Regions from separate parts of the Homo sapiens genome. Here all the other regions are linked to region 3. Evidence: promoter capture Hi-C in human tissues and cell types (Jung and others, 2019). All regions are on one chromosome and are shown on one strand. Each heading gives the region's core, a stretch centred on a gene start or on the middle of the fragment in contact. The rest is flanking DNA. Distances are from core to core; before and after follow the strand shown.

Region 1 (4,641 bases), core at 1,606-4,105, 260 kb after region 3:
TCTGGAATTTCCTTTTCTGCTGAAAGAAATACTAGCAGTGGCATGTGTGTGGTCCAGCCTCTTCAGCCGCACGATTCAAACACATCATATTCTAAAAGTCAGCAAGGCCACCACAGCTAATTACAACAACCCGAACAATACTGGCTAATTTCTTGTATTGGAAGCTTTGCCAGTGATGATGAAATGAATGTCATCCATTGTATCCCTTATTTTTGATAGCTGCAAAATTCTCCAGTTGTTCACATGTGTATATTTTGGTGCAGTAGTAAGACCTTTCACAAGCTTGCGAACTCTTCCAAACAGCTTCCAGACTCTACCCAACCTTACTTAGGCCTGATATAATTCTTTCTGTGTGCTAAGACAGTGTGAGATAGTACACAGTATCTTTTAGTTGGAGAAGGCAGCCCTCTAATCCTTAAAGCTTTTATTTCTGCAAAAACAATGAATCTGCTTTTATCACTGTTCCCTTAGTCTAAAGAATTGACTCATTTGTCAGCCTGAGGGAAGCTTTCCTTTTAGGACATTCTGCTTCTATCTTTCTTTCTTTTTTTTTTTTTTTTTTTTTTTTTTGAGTCTCATCCTGTCGCCCAGGCTGGAGTGCAGTGACACAATCTTGGCTCACTGCAACCTCCGCCTCTGGGGTTCAAGCGATTCTCCAGCCTCAGCCTCCCAAGTAGCTGGGATTACAGGTGTGCGCCACCACACCTGGCTAAGTTTTCATATCTTTAGTAGAGATGGGGTTTCACCATGTTGGTCAGGCTGGTCTCGAACTCCTGACCTCATGATCCACACGCCTCATCCTCCCAAAGTGCTGGGATTACAGGCATGACATTCTGCTTCCTAAGAACTTTGTGCAAATCACCAATGGGCACTTAGGCTGAAGTCCCAACTCCAGGCCCTTCTTGGCCTCTACACAGCACAATATAAGGGGCCCCAAATTGGACTGCCGAGAAAGAAGTGTGACTTACTGCTTTTCGTTCTCTGGGGCAAGGGAGAGAACAGAGTTAGTGGAAATGCACGTATGCAGTTGGTTCAAGGAGATCTCTGTCTGACAGCACTTTTGCTCCTAGAGCCCCAACGGTAAACTGACTGATTTCCTGAGCTTCTATACGCTCCCCTCCACGGTGATGCACCACCCTGCTCACAAGAGCCTCAAAGCCGCCTACTCATTCTACAACATCCACACAGAGACGCCCCTGCTGGACCTCATGAGCGACGCGCTCATCCTGGCTAAATCGGTAAGCCACTCCTTCCTGTTCACGCCGTTTGGTTCTCCAAATGTCTGTGCCAAACTATAGAAGACATCTTACTGTGTTTTCTTCCACACAGGTGGAATTTATGCGAGACTTTAAAAAAACTATTGATCATCAGTCAAAGGAAGAATTTTGATAAGAGTTTCTTTTGAAACTTTAGAGGCTATTTTCATCATTAATTTTATGGCAGTTTAACAAAAAAGACAAAATGTACAAATTATAAATGTTTAATCCTTATATAAGAATATATAAGGCTGGGCATGGTGGCTCAGGCTTGTAATCCCAACACTTTGGGAGGCCGAGATGGGTGGATCACCTGAGGTTAGGAGTTTAAGACCAGCCTGGTTAATATGGTGAAACCTCGTCTCTACTAAAAATACAAAAGTTAGCCAGGCTTCGTGGTGTGTGCCTGTAATCCCAGCTACTCGGGAGGCTGAGGCAGGAGAATTGCTTGAACCTGGGAGGCAGAGGTTGCAATGGAGCTGAGATTGCACCACTGCACTCCAGCCTGGGTGACAGAAACTGTCTCAAAAAAAAAAAAAAAAAAAAAAAAAAAAAAAAAAATATATATATATATATATATATATATATATATATATATATATAAAGCCCATATCTTAGGAAGTAATATAAGGAAAATATTAATACATGAGTGAATATTTTTGTTGAGTGAATAACTAGCAGCAATTTTTTTATTCAACCAAATAGTCTCTGAATTTTAAAATTAAAGGAATGAAATTCAAAATTTAATTGTAGCCAGTCTACATGGTGAAACCCTGTCTCTACTAAAAATACAAAAATTAGCAGGGTGTGATAGCACACACCTGTAATCCCAGCTACTCGGGAGGCTGAGGCAAGAGGATTACTTGAACCTGGGAGTTGGCGGTTGCAGTGAGCCGAGATTGCACCATTGCATTCCAGCCTGGGCCACAGAGTGAGACCCTGTCTCAAATTAATTAATTAATTAAAATAAAATAAAATAAAAATCTCTTACCTGTGCCTTTGGATCCCCAAGTCAACATCATCCTCAGATTGTCTGCTTTTTTTCAACACTTCCCAAATATGGCCAGTAATTAGTTATTTAAGGTAAAAACCCTGAGAAATAAAAATAAAAAGTGCTTCTTCTATATCACATTTTGCATAGTATTATTGTCTGACATTTTAAAGAAATTTAATTTTTTACCATTAAAATTTTACATAAATATATTTCCCATTATCAGCCCAAAGCAAACATACTATTTTTTTATACTTTTTTTTTTTTTTTTTTTTTTGAGATGAGTCTTGCTGTGTTACCCAGGCTGGAGTGCAGTGGCACAGTCTCGGCTCACTGCAACCTCTGCTTCCCATGTTCAAGTGATTCTCTTGTCTCAGCCTCCAGAGTAGCTGGGACTATAGGTGTGTGCCACCACACCTGGCTAATTTTTGTATTTTTAGTAGAGACAGGGTTTCATCATATTGACCCGGCTGGTCTCGAACTCCTGACCTCAGGTGATCCACCTGCTGCGGCCTCCCAAAGTGCGGGGATTACAGGCGTGAGCCACCACGCCCGGCCTGCATACTATTTAAAGTCTTTACAACTTTGGTCCCTGGGCAATAGCTTCAGCCAAGGTAGGACTTAGAAAGGCTAATAATTAATAATCCTGGAGATGAAACCATCTTGACAACTGTTCCCTTCTAAAACAAGAACGAGGCTGGGTGCAGTGGCTCATGCCTGTAATCCCAGCACTTTGGAAGGCCAAGGCAGGTGGATCACTTGAGGTCGGAGTTCAAGACCAGCCTGGCCAACACGGTGAAACCCGGTCTCTACTAAAAATACAAAGAAATTAGCTGGGCATGGAGGTGCACACCTGTAATGCCAGCTACTAGGAAGTTTGAGGCAGGAGAATTGCTTAAATCTGGGAGGTGGAGGTTGCAGTGAGCCGACATCATGCCACTGTATTCCAGCCTGGATGACAGAGTGAGACTCCATCTCAAAAAAATTTAAAAATAAATAAATAAAACATAAATAAAATATTTTCTGAAATCTTCATAAGTAATTTTATGCCAGTGACAGCCATCATACTACATTTTTAACATTTTTGGGATTCAGCGTTTCTGAATTTTCATGCTGACTTCATTGGATTCACTATAGTTTGTTTGTTTTTTGAGACAGGCGCTCACTCTGTTGCTCAGGTTTAAGTGCACTGGCACAATCACAGCTCACTGCAGCCTCGACCTCTTCGGCTTATGCAATCCTGCCTCAGCCTCCTGTGTAGCTGGGTCCACAGGCACACACCACCATGCCGAGTCAATCTTTTTATTTTTGTAGAGACAATGTCCTGTACCTACACCTACACCTATACCTACAGCCTATGCCCAGGCTGGTTTCAAATTCCTGGGCTCCAGTGAGCCTCCCACCTTGGCCTCCCAAAGTGCTGGGATTACAGGCGTGAGCCACCACATCCAGCCACACTGCTAGTTTTATAAGACAATTTTCAACTGAATTCTTCCTCTTTTTAAAGAAAGAAAAAAAAAAAGTCTCACTCTGTCGCTCAGGCTGGAGTGCCGTGGCACAATCTCGGCTCACTGCCACCTCTACCTCCCAGGCTCAAGCAGTTCTCCTGCCTCAGCCTCCTGAGTAGCTGGGACTGCAGGTGTGCGCCACCACATCTGGCTTATTTTTGTTATTTTTAGTAGAGATGGGGTTTCGCCATGTTGGTCAGGCTGGTCTCGAACTCCTGACCTCAAGTGATCCACCCACCTCAGCCTACCAAAGTGCTGGGATTATAGGCATGAGCCACAGCATCCGGCCCTGAATTCTTAACCTATGCTATATATCACGGACGTTAAATCCTATTAGAAATGCATATTCGAGCTATTAGTAGAATTGTTAAACTGAGATATGTAATACAGAAAACACTAGTCCTTTGTTTTAAATTTTAAATCTTTTTTAAATTGGCAGAAAGGATTTGATGTATTCAATGCACTGGATTTGATGGAAAATAAGACATTCTTGGAAAAACTCAAGTTTGGTATAGGAGATGGCAATTTGCAGTATTACCTGTACAATTGGAGGTGTCCAGGTACAGATTCTGAAAAGGTAAGTGAAATGGATATAGCCCTTGTAAACTCAACAAATGTACCTAGACAATTTCATACTTGCTTCACTTAGACTTAAGACAGCTTTATTTTATTTTTGTTCATTTTATTTATTTATTTATTTATTTTTTTGAGATGAAGTCTCGCTCTGTCCCCCAGGCTGGAGTGCAATGGCATGATCTCAGCTCACTGCAACCTCCGCCTCCCAGGTTCAAGTGATTCTCCTGCCTCAGCCTCCCGAGTAGCTGGGATTACATCCACCACCATGCCTGGCTAATTTTTTCATTTTTAGTAGAGATGGGGTTTGACC
Region 2 (4,323 bases), core at 1,315-3,814, 370 kb after region 3:
GCAGGCTGAGGCAAGAGAATAGCTTGAACCTGGGATGCGGAGGTTGCAGTGAGCCAAGATCACTCCACTGGACTCCAGCCTGGGCAAGAGAAAGAGACTGCGTCTCAAAAAAAAAAAAAAAAAAAAAAAAACAAGAACAAAAACAAAAAAACCCCACAACTTTTTGAGAGTTTGGAGACCATCAAGTATGGTATGCAGGAGTTAGAGTCTGGCCATTAATTTTCAATACCGCCCTTTCTACTTATCTGTATGGCAAGGGGTGAGACGTCCATCTTCTGAGACTCAGCACTCTCATCTGAGTTGATTTCTAGTTGATCCAATGGAAGTGAGCGACGATGAAACCGATCGTGGGTGCCCGCTGCGTGATCTCTGTGTGATGGATGCGTAAAGTCAAGGCAAAGTGAATTTTAGATACATTCGTTAATATTTTCAGCTTAAACTCCATACGGTTCAACGGAAATATCCCCTGACCTGAAGTTCTGGTTTCCCTGCATTCCAGACAGGACATTTTCTTTTGTCCTTATCTCAGTAAGTCCTGAGTATTGTGAGAGGAACAAGTGAGTCTCTTTTGTTTCTGATTCCCCAGAGCCTATATCTCGCTTGGCACATAGGAGATAGCCAAAGTCAACATCTATGTGAATTATTGAATTGACACTTCCTTGGTTCACAAAAATTGGCTGTCATCAGTGTGACGTCAGTGTGACAGAGCGTGTACTTTTTTTAAATTGTTTTTCGAGACAGAGTTTTGCTCTTTTTGCCCAGGCTGGAGTGCAGTGGTGTGATCTGGGCTCACTGTAGCCTCTGCCTCCCAGGTTCAAGCCATTCTCCTGCCTCAGCCTCCCGAGAAGCTGGGACTACAGGCACGCACCGCCATGCTGGGCGAAGTTTTTGTATTTTCAGTAGAGGCGGGGTTTCACCATGTTGGCCCGGATGGTCTTGATCTCCTGACCTCGTGATCCGCCCTCCTCGGCCTCCCAAAGTGCTGGGATCACAGGCGTGAGCCACCGCGTCCGGCCAAACGTTCTGATGAAAACGCTAAGTCCACCAAAGCTAAGGACAGGAGTTACAGCTTCCATGAATTTTAAAACAAGACCCACAGATTTGAGGAAGCAATTCCTCTCTTGAAGGTGAAAAGTCAGAAAACAGAATGATGAAATCAATAGGATCCAACCGGCCTGTGGAACTATTCTCTGCTTATGAACTATCAACTTTAATTTCATTTCCAGATGGCATGGTCTCAGCAGTTATACGGTGTTTACAGATGTTCTAAATCAAGGGAATTTGTATCAGTCTATTCGAATAAAATAAAATATTTGAGTTCTTAATTTCCTTTAATTAGGATAACCTTTTTCTTAAAGTGAAGAGAATGGTTTGATTACATAGTTTCCGTCGGTAAAGATAGGCTGTATTTTCTAGCAATGACGAATTTGTTATATAGGATGATCTCGTTCTTGGAACATTCTTGAATCTAGTGTCTCTGAGGCAGGTGTGTACAACAAGAAGTGAATCACACAGAAATCAATGATGAAAGCATTAGAAGACAATTGAGATTGTCAGAAGTGCAAACTATTGCTGAGTGTGGATTGCTCTGAAATCTGAAAACATGACTTGTGAATTGCTTCTATCCAAAATGCAGACACGATGCTGGGTGTCGGTTTACTTGTTTCCGATTTCTCAACCCTCTTTTCTAGGCAAAAGTTGTCCAATCTCTACAGACCCACAGAATCTAACAGATGTCTCTATATTCCTCCTCCTAGAAGCTCAGAGGATCCAGAATGGCAGCCGGTCCTCACTGGGCTGTGCCTGTCCATGTGCCTGGTCACGGTGCTGGGGAACCTGCTCATCATCCTGGCCGTCAGCCCTGACTCCCACCTCCACATCCCCATGTACTTCTTCCTCTCCAACCTGTCCCTGCCTGACATCGGTTTCACCTCCACCACGGTCCCCAAGATGATTGTGGACATCCAGTCTCACAGCAGAGTCATCTCCTACGCAGGCTGCCTGACTCAGATGTCTCTCTTTGCCATTTTTGGAGGCATGGAAGAGAGACATGCTCCTGAGTGTGATAGCCTATGAGCGGTTTGTAGCCATCTGTCACCCTCTATATCATTCAGCCATCATGAACCCATGTTTCTGTGGCTTTCTAGTTTTGTTGTCTTTTTTTTTTCTCAGTCTTTTAGACGCCCAGCTGCACAACTTGATTGCCTTACAAAGGACCTGCTTCAAGGATGTGGAAATTCCTAATTTCTTCTGTGACCCTTCTCAACTCCCCATCTTGCATATTGTGGCACCTTCACCAATAACATAATCATGTATTTCCCTGCCGCCATATTTGGTTTTCTTCCCATCTCGGGGACCCTTTTCTCTTACAATAAAATTGTTTTCTCCATTCTAAGGGTTTCATCATCAGGTGGGAAGTATAAGGCCTTCTCCACCTGTGGGTCTCACCTGTCAGTTGTTTGCTGATTTTATGGAACAGGCATTGGAGGCTACCTCGGTTCAGATGTGTCATCTTCCCCGAGAAAGGCTGCAGTGGCCTCAGTGATGTACACGGTGGTCATCCCCATGCCGAACCCCTTCATCTACAGCCTGAGAAACAGGGATATGAAAAGTGTCCTGCAGCGGCCACATGGCAGCACGATCTCATCTCAATATCTTCTTATTTGTTCCATTCCTTTTGTAGTGTGGGTTAAAAAAGGCAGCAAGGTCAAATAAGAATGAAGTCACAGGGTGAACACCCACTGTGATATTAGGAGTAATACCTCCCTAGGATATAGAATATACTGTCACAGAGTATACACACATGGGGTACACCCACTGTGATATTAGAAGCAATATCTCCCTAAAGTACGATGAAAAATATCACAGGGTGTGCACACTGTGTGATATGAGGAGTAATATTTACCCTGGATATTACGACTAACATCAAGGGTGTACACACCAGGGGTACACGCACTGTGATATCAGGAGTTGTATCTCCCTAGGATATTATGAATACTGTCACAGGGTATACACTATGTGTGTACATCCACTGTGATATTTGAAGTAATATCTCTCTATGAGATTATAAATAACATCAAAGCTTGTACAAGCCTGTGACTTATTAGGAGTAACATTCTTCTAGGGTATTGCAGATCACGCCACAACGTGTACACCTCCTGTGACGTTTTGTACACTCTTTGTGACATTAAAAGAAACATCCCCCTAGGATATTATGAATAATAAAACAGGAGGGGTACACACAAGGTGTACACCACCTGTGTCATCAGGAGTAACAATTCCCTAGGATATTACGAATAATATCACAGCAGGTGTACACACATGGTGTACACCCCATGTGACATTCGGAAGAGCATGCCCCTAGGATATTAGGAATAGTATCACTGGGGTTGAATACGCATTTTTAATGCGTAATGTCACCCCCGGTGACATTAAAAATAACATCCCCCTTGGATATTACGAATAATATGACAGGGAGTACACCCCATGTGACATGAGGAGTAACACCCCCAAAGGATATAACGAATAATATCAGAGGGTGTACATGCACTGTGACCTTAGTAGTAACATCTCTTTAGGATATTACAAATAGTATCACAGGGTGTACAGGCATTGTGACATTAGTAGTAACATCCCGCTGGGATGACGAGTCACATCACAGGGTGTACACCTCCGTGACAATAGTATCAACATTCCCCTAGAATACTATGAATAATATCAAAGGAGGTACAGCCCCTGTGATTTACGAGTAACATGTCTATAGAATGTTACAACTCATATCACTGTGTGACTCTGTGTACACCCCATGTGACTTTAGGAGTAACATCCCACAAAGCTATGATGAAAAATATCACAGGGTGAACACCCCCTGTGACCTGAGGAATAACATAGTTTTAGGATATTGTGAATGATTTGACAAGATGTACACACCCTGTGACGTTAGGAGCAACATCCGTCTAGGATGTTAGGAAGAATATCACACAGAACACACCTCCTGTGACATTAGGATATGACAAATAATATAACAAAGTGTACATGCATCGTGACATGAGTGCTAATATCCCTCTGGTACACTATGAGTAATATCACAGGGTGTACCTCCCTGTGATGTTAGGAGTAACATCCCCCTAGAATAGTAAGAATACTAACACGGGGTGTACACCACCTGTGACATGAGGAGTATCATCTCGCTAGAATATTACAAATAATGTCACAGGGTGTTATCGTCTGTGCCAATAGGAGTATAGACCCCTGGGAAATTATGAATACTATCACAGGCTGTACAGCCCTGTGACATTAGGAGTAATATCTTTCTAGAATATC
Region 3 (4,564 bases), core at 1,434-3,933:
AACGATGGCTTTAGGCTGCTAAAAGTCTAAAAACACAACAGCAACAACAACAACAAAATAAGGCAGGTTGGACAAGCTTGATACAGTTAAGATTGTGAACCCAACTTGATTCAGTTTATTAAGATTTCTTCCACCCTGAAACATTCTGGAACTCTATACTAAGATCACAAACACCAGTGTTTTGAGTGAACAATAAGACTTAGAAAAATGGCATAGAATGGGATTTTTTTTCTATTTTAAATATTTCCATCTGAAATAATTATAGACTCATAAAAAGTTACAAAAATAGTACAGAGAGGTCACATCTATCCTTCTCCCAGCTTCCCCCAATTGTAACATCTTATATAACTGTAGTACACTGTCAATGCCAGGAAATGAACATTGGCACCATAGTATTCACTAGATTTGCACTTCACTGGGATTAGAGCAGGTTCAAACAATTTGGACACTCCTGGAGGTAATTTGAATCATTTGCATAAAATTTATTCTCAGAAGTAACATGGTATAGGGAATTTACACTTATCAGATCTTTGTATTGTGGGCAAGTTGTTTAATGGCACCAAGCCTCGGTTTGTTCATCTGTGAAATGGAAACAATGATACCTACCAAATAAGTTGTTATGAGGAAATAGCTCCAGTTCAGTGAGTGCCATATATTAGGAACTTTGATGCCATATATTAGGCTTAGATGCAGGAATCAGAAGAAGGAGGGAATCCAGCAGTCCCTATTTCTTTCTGCCTTCCTGACTACCTGCCACCCTGTGCAGGTGCGTGATTTGCGCAAATTGCAGCATTGGTCCTAAGGGTGACTATAAAACCCATATGGGCTTCTGTACGTCCTAGTTTTTCTCATGTCTCACAGTCATTTGTCTTTTATAAGCCAACTGGGCAAGTGCCATCCTTCATTCTTTTTTTGGTACGGTGCCTGCCATGTCTAAATGCTCAATTAATGAAATTACAGTAATAACCCTCCTTCTGGCCTGGTGTTCTGGAAGCAGTGTGGGGTGGATGATGGGTCTGGAGTGGATTTTCCTAGGTCCCCAGTGGAAGTCGGAAGGTCACCGCAGTGCTAGTTGGAAGAGAAGGTGGAGAGGGACAAGTGGAGGTGAAGGTTGTGTGGAAGGCATACCGACAGGAGTGGGTTGAGAGAAAGAAAAGTTGAGGTTGGAATGGAGGGGGTCCCTAGGCTCAAGGAAAGTCTAGAGGTTTGGTTTTGTTTTGTGTGTGGTTTTTTTGGTGGTTTTATTTTTTGATTTTTTTTTTTTTTTTTTTTTGAGACGGGGTCTCAGTCTGTCATCCAGGCTGGAGTGCAGTGGCACGATCTTGGCTCACTGCAACCTCCCCACTCCCAGGTTCAAGCGATCCTCCCACCTCAGCCTCCTGAGTAGTTGGGACCACAGGCATGGGCCACTATGCCTGGTTAATTTTTTTGTATTTTTGGTAGAGACAGGGTTTCACCATGTTGGCCCAGCTGGTCTCTTAACTCCTGAACTCAGGCCATCCACCTACCTCAGCCTCCCAAAGTGTTGGGATTATAGGCATGAACCATCACACCCAGCCAAGTCTGGAGGTTTTTGTGAAGAGTTTCAATTTTGGGGTCAGACTGACTGTTTTATTAGAATTTTGGCTCTGCCACTGACCAGGTATGCACTTTTGGACAAATTCCTTAACCCTCTTTAGCCTCTTTTCTCATCTGTGAATGGGGGGGATAATGCTAACTACCTCTTAGATCATGTATTGTGAAGATGGACAAAGAGTCTCTGCTTGACCGAACTACAGTCAGGCTCCGGAACCTTCTTCTAGGCTCAGTTGTGCCCTTCCTTGTAAAATCTGCTTTCAGGAAGAACCCTGCTAAGTCAGTTTACCAAGAACCCTCCACCCTGGATATCTGATCAGCTTCCCCATCCGCCCTGTCCTGCCCAGCCCTGCCAGGGGATGTCTGACTTTCAAGAATCCCCCTTCCCCCTGATGTTTCCTCTTATAATTTTTCATTCCCTGCATCCCACCCTGGTCCTCGGTTATAAATCCCCACTTGTTCCTGCTGTATTCAGAGTTGAACCCAACCTTTCTCCCCGACTGCAGAATCCCATGGTAGGGCTTATACCTATTGCGATGGTTCCAAAGAGGGTCTTCTTTGCTGTGCTTTCACACGTGTCATGGAATAGTCTTTTTTCTTTAATAGGACAGAAAGTTTTAAAGCACCTAGGGCCTCAAAAGATGTGGATTTCCTCCCCACCCTAACCCCTAGAACCATCCAAGTACCATTCCTCCTGAAGCTGTCCACCCGCCAACACGTAGGTACTGCAGGCCTACTGCAGTCTATACTGGCTTGGGGAGTGTTTTTGCGGATCTTTAACACTGGGTGTGAAATCTACGTTGGGGGACACAACTACATTAGGATGGCACCTGGTGGGGGGGTCACACCCAGATACAATGTCTCCTGCGGCCCCTTGGGTGACCTGGTGTGATGAAAAGGGCTCCGCCCTGAAAGGCAGGTCTGGCTCTTCTGCGGGGCTGCGGGGATGGGGCGCGCCGGGGCAGTGTCGCCGGGGGTCGGGCTGGGGGCGCGACGCAGCGGCGCCGGGCGGGGGCGCCCTCGGCGCCGCAGCCGCCAGGTGGCACCACGGGCCCGGGGCCTGGGCGCGGGCAGCGGCGGCGGCGGCGGGCGAGGCAGGAAGGGGTTAAGGAGCTGGCGGAGCAGCAGCAGCCGCCGCCGCCGCCGCCGCCGCGGCTCTTCGGGGAAACCCGGCGCGGGGCGCGGGAGGGAGCGGCCGGGGCGGCGGGGCCGGGCCAATCGGGCGGCGGGCCCGGCGCGCGGAGCCAGCGACATGGAGGGGGGCGCGGCGCCCGGCCGCCCGTGACGCGCCGCCGCCCGGCCCGCTCTCGGCGAGCCCGAGCCGCCGCCGGCCCCGCGGCGGAGATGAGCAGGTCCGCGACGCTGCTGCTGTGCCTGCTGGGCTGCCACGTCTGGAAGGCGGTGACCAAGACGCTGCGGGAGCCCGGCGCCGGAGCCCAAGGTCAGTGGGCGGCGGCGGGGCCGGGGGCTTTGTGTCGCGCCGGGCCTGGCGCGGAGGCGGCGGCGGCGGCGGCGGCGGCGGGAGGGTCCCGGGCCGCGTGGTGGCGACGCAGCCCGAGCCGCATCGGGAGCCTCCGGGCCTGCAGCACCCGCAACGCGCTCCCGAGGGGGCGGCGCGGGCCGGCGACGCGGGGTGACCCGGGCGGAGGCTTCGGGGGCCGGGGATCGGGGGCTGGGTCGGGCGGGGGCGCGGGCAGCTCCAGCTGCTGTCGCCGCTGCGGCGGGGGCTCGTCTGGATGCGCCCGGGGGTCCCCTTTATGCCGCGCCTCGGACACGCGGCTCTGTCTCCCATGTCGCCGCGGACAGAGGGGCCGCCCAGGGCGCGCCGCCCGATCGCGCTCCCGGCTCCCCACGCCGGGCTCGGGTCTGGGAAGTCCCAGCTCCTGGGCTGCGCTGGGGCCTTTTGTTGTGGCGGGAGGGGGTGGCTGACGCCCCGGGGTGCCCCCTGTGTCCCGGGGCCCCGAGGTCCGCTGCCGCCACTAGCCACTAGCCTGCCGCAGTTTGGGAAAGTTTGGGGGGTTCTCTCCCCCTGCCTATCTGACGTCTCTTCCAGACCATAAGGGATTTGCTCAGCGGCCCATGAGTCTTCTCTGTAAGGGAAGAAAGAATTGAACTGGGAGGCCCTCATCGCTCACCAAAAAAAAAAAAAAAAAAAAGAAAAATCCTTTCCAGATCAGTTTGTCGCCAGCTCGTGCCTTTTGTCTCGTCTTTGGCCTCCACAAATCTGCTTTCCAGCCCTGGGAGTAACGTGGTCGCCTCTGAGAATGGCCACGAGCCTGTCTTTTGTTTTTAAAATCAGCGTTTTTTGAGGGGAGTCCCCCACACCCACCCTGAGGCTTGCTTGGCACATTTTTGTGGGGACAGCGTCGAGGACTCCTCTGTTGCTGGCGTTTTCAAAAGGGCCACTGAGGCCCGCAGATGAGCCTCTGCATTCACCCAGGGCACCGCTGCCTGGACTCTTGCCGGGGGCTCAGGTCTCTGCGAGGGAGCTCCCTGCAGCCCTGCAGAACCCCGGGATTCCGAGCCCGAGGCCTGTCCCCTCAGAAGGGTGTGTGTCCTGCAAAGTTGGCCCTGCAGGCCAAAGAAACGAGGAGTGCTGCATCCGAGGGTCTCCTTGCTGGAACCCCCTTTCCTCGGCTAACATGCTCAGGGTGCCTGGGAGCAGAGACGCCCGGGCTTCCACCACGATGTTGCTACGGGGAGGAAAGGCTCTGCCAACACTCTGTTGGGTTGAGTTTGTTGCCTACATGTTGAGTTGAAGGTTTTCATATTCTGGCACTTGCAGTATCATTTCCTGGTATATCTTAAATGCATTGCTGCTTCTATGGCCATGGTAGAATATGACCGTTATGAATTGTGTATAATTTTAGTAATGCATATCATGGAAGAGCGGACAGCTACAAAATACAAAAAGACCTATATGTCTCTTCGTGTAGGAAACGAATGTTTAGGACATTAGATCATCAGTGTTGCATTGCAGCTTCTTTTA

Evidence for each region. The method cuts DNA at HindIII sites, captures the fragments that hold promoters and counts their contacts. A contact is called where the count stands out against the background at its distance.
Region 1: a fragment that was not itself captured here is called in contact with the fragment with the promoter of FAM171A1 in region 3 in 1 of the 25 tissues and cell types used here (bladder).
Region 2: a fragment that was not itself captured here is called in contact with the fragment with the promoter of FAM171A1 in region 3 in 1 of the 25 tissues and cell types used here (liver).

The regions. Positions count from the first base shown.
Region 1 is chr10:15,109,393-15,114,033 of GRCh38, reverse strand. It overlaps NMT2 (N-myristoyltransferase 2), which reads left to right. Exons shown (of 12, transcript NM_004808.3): 10 at 1,071-1,238; 11 at 4,195-4,332. It overlaps LOC105376431 (a long non-coding RNA gene), which reads right to left and starts at 2,506. Exons shown (of 2, transcript XR_930693.4): 1 at 2,248-2,506. The HindIII fragment of the contact is 4,782 bases long and covers 465-4,641 here.
Region 2 is chr10:14,997,441-15,001,763 of GRCh38, reverse strand. It overlaps the pseudogene OR7E26P. Among named protein-coding and RNA genes, the nearest start is that of MEIG1, 40 kb to the right of the region's middle. The HindIII fragment of the contact is 6,058 bases long and covers 1-4,323 here.
Region 3 is chr10:15,369,408-15,373,971 of GRCh38, reverse strand. FAM171A1 (family with sequence similarity 171 member A1) reads left to right here and starts at 2,683. Exons shown (of 8, transcript NM_001010924.2): 1 at 2,683-3,016. The coding sequence starts at 2,920. RefSeq lists silencers at 2,637-2,686, 2,697-2,926. The HindIII fragment of the contact is 11,349 bases long and covers 1-4,564 here.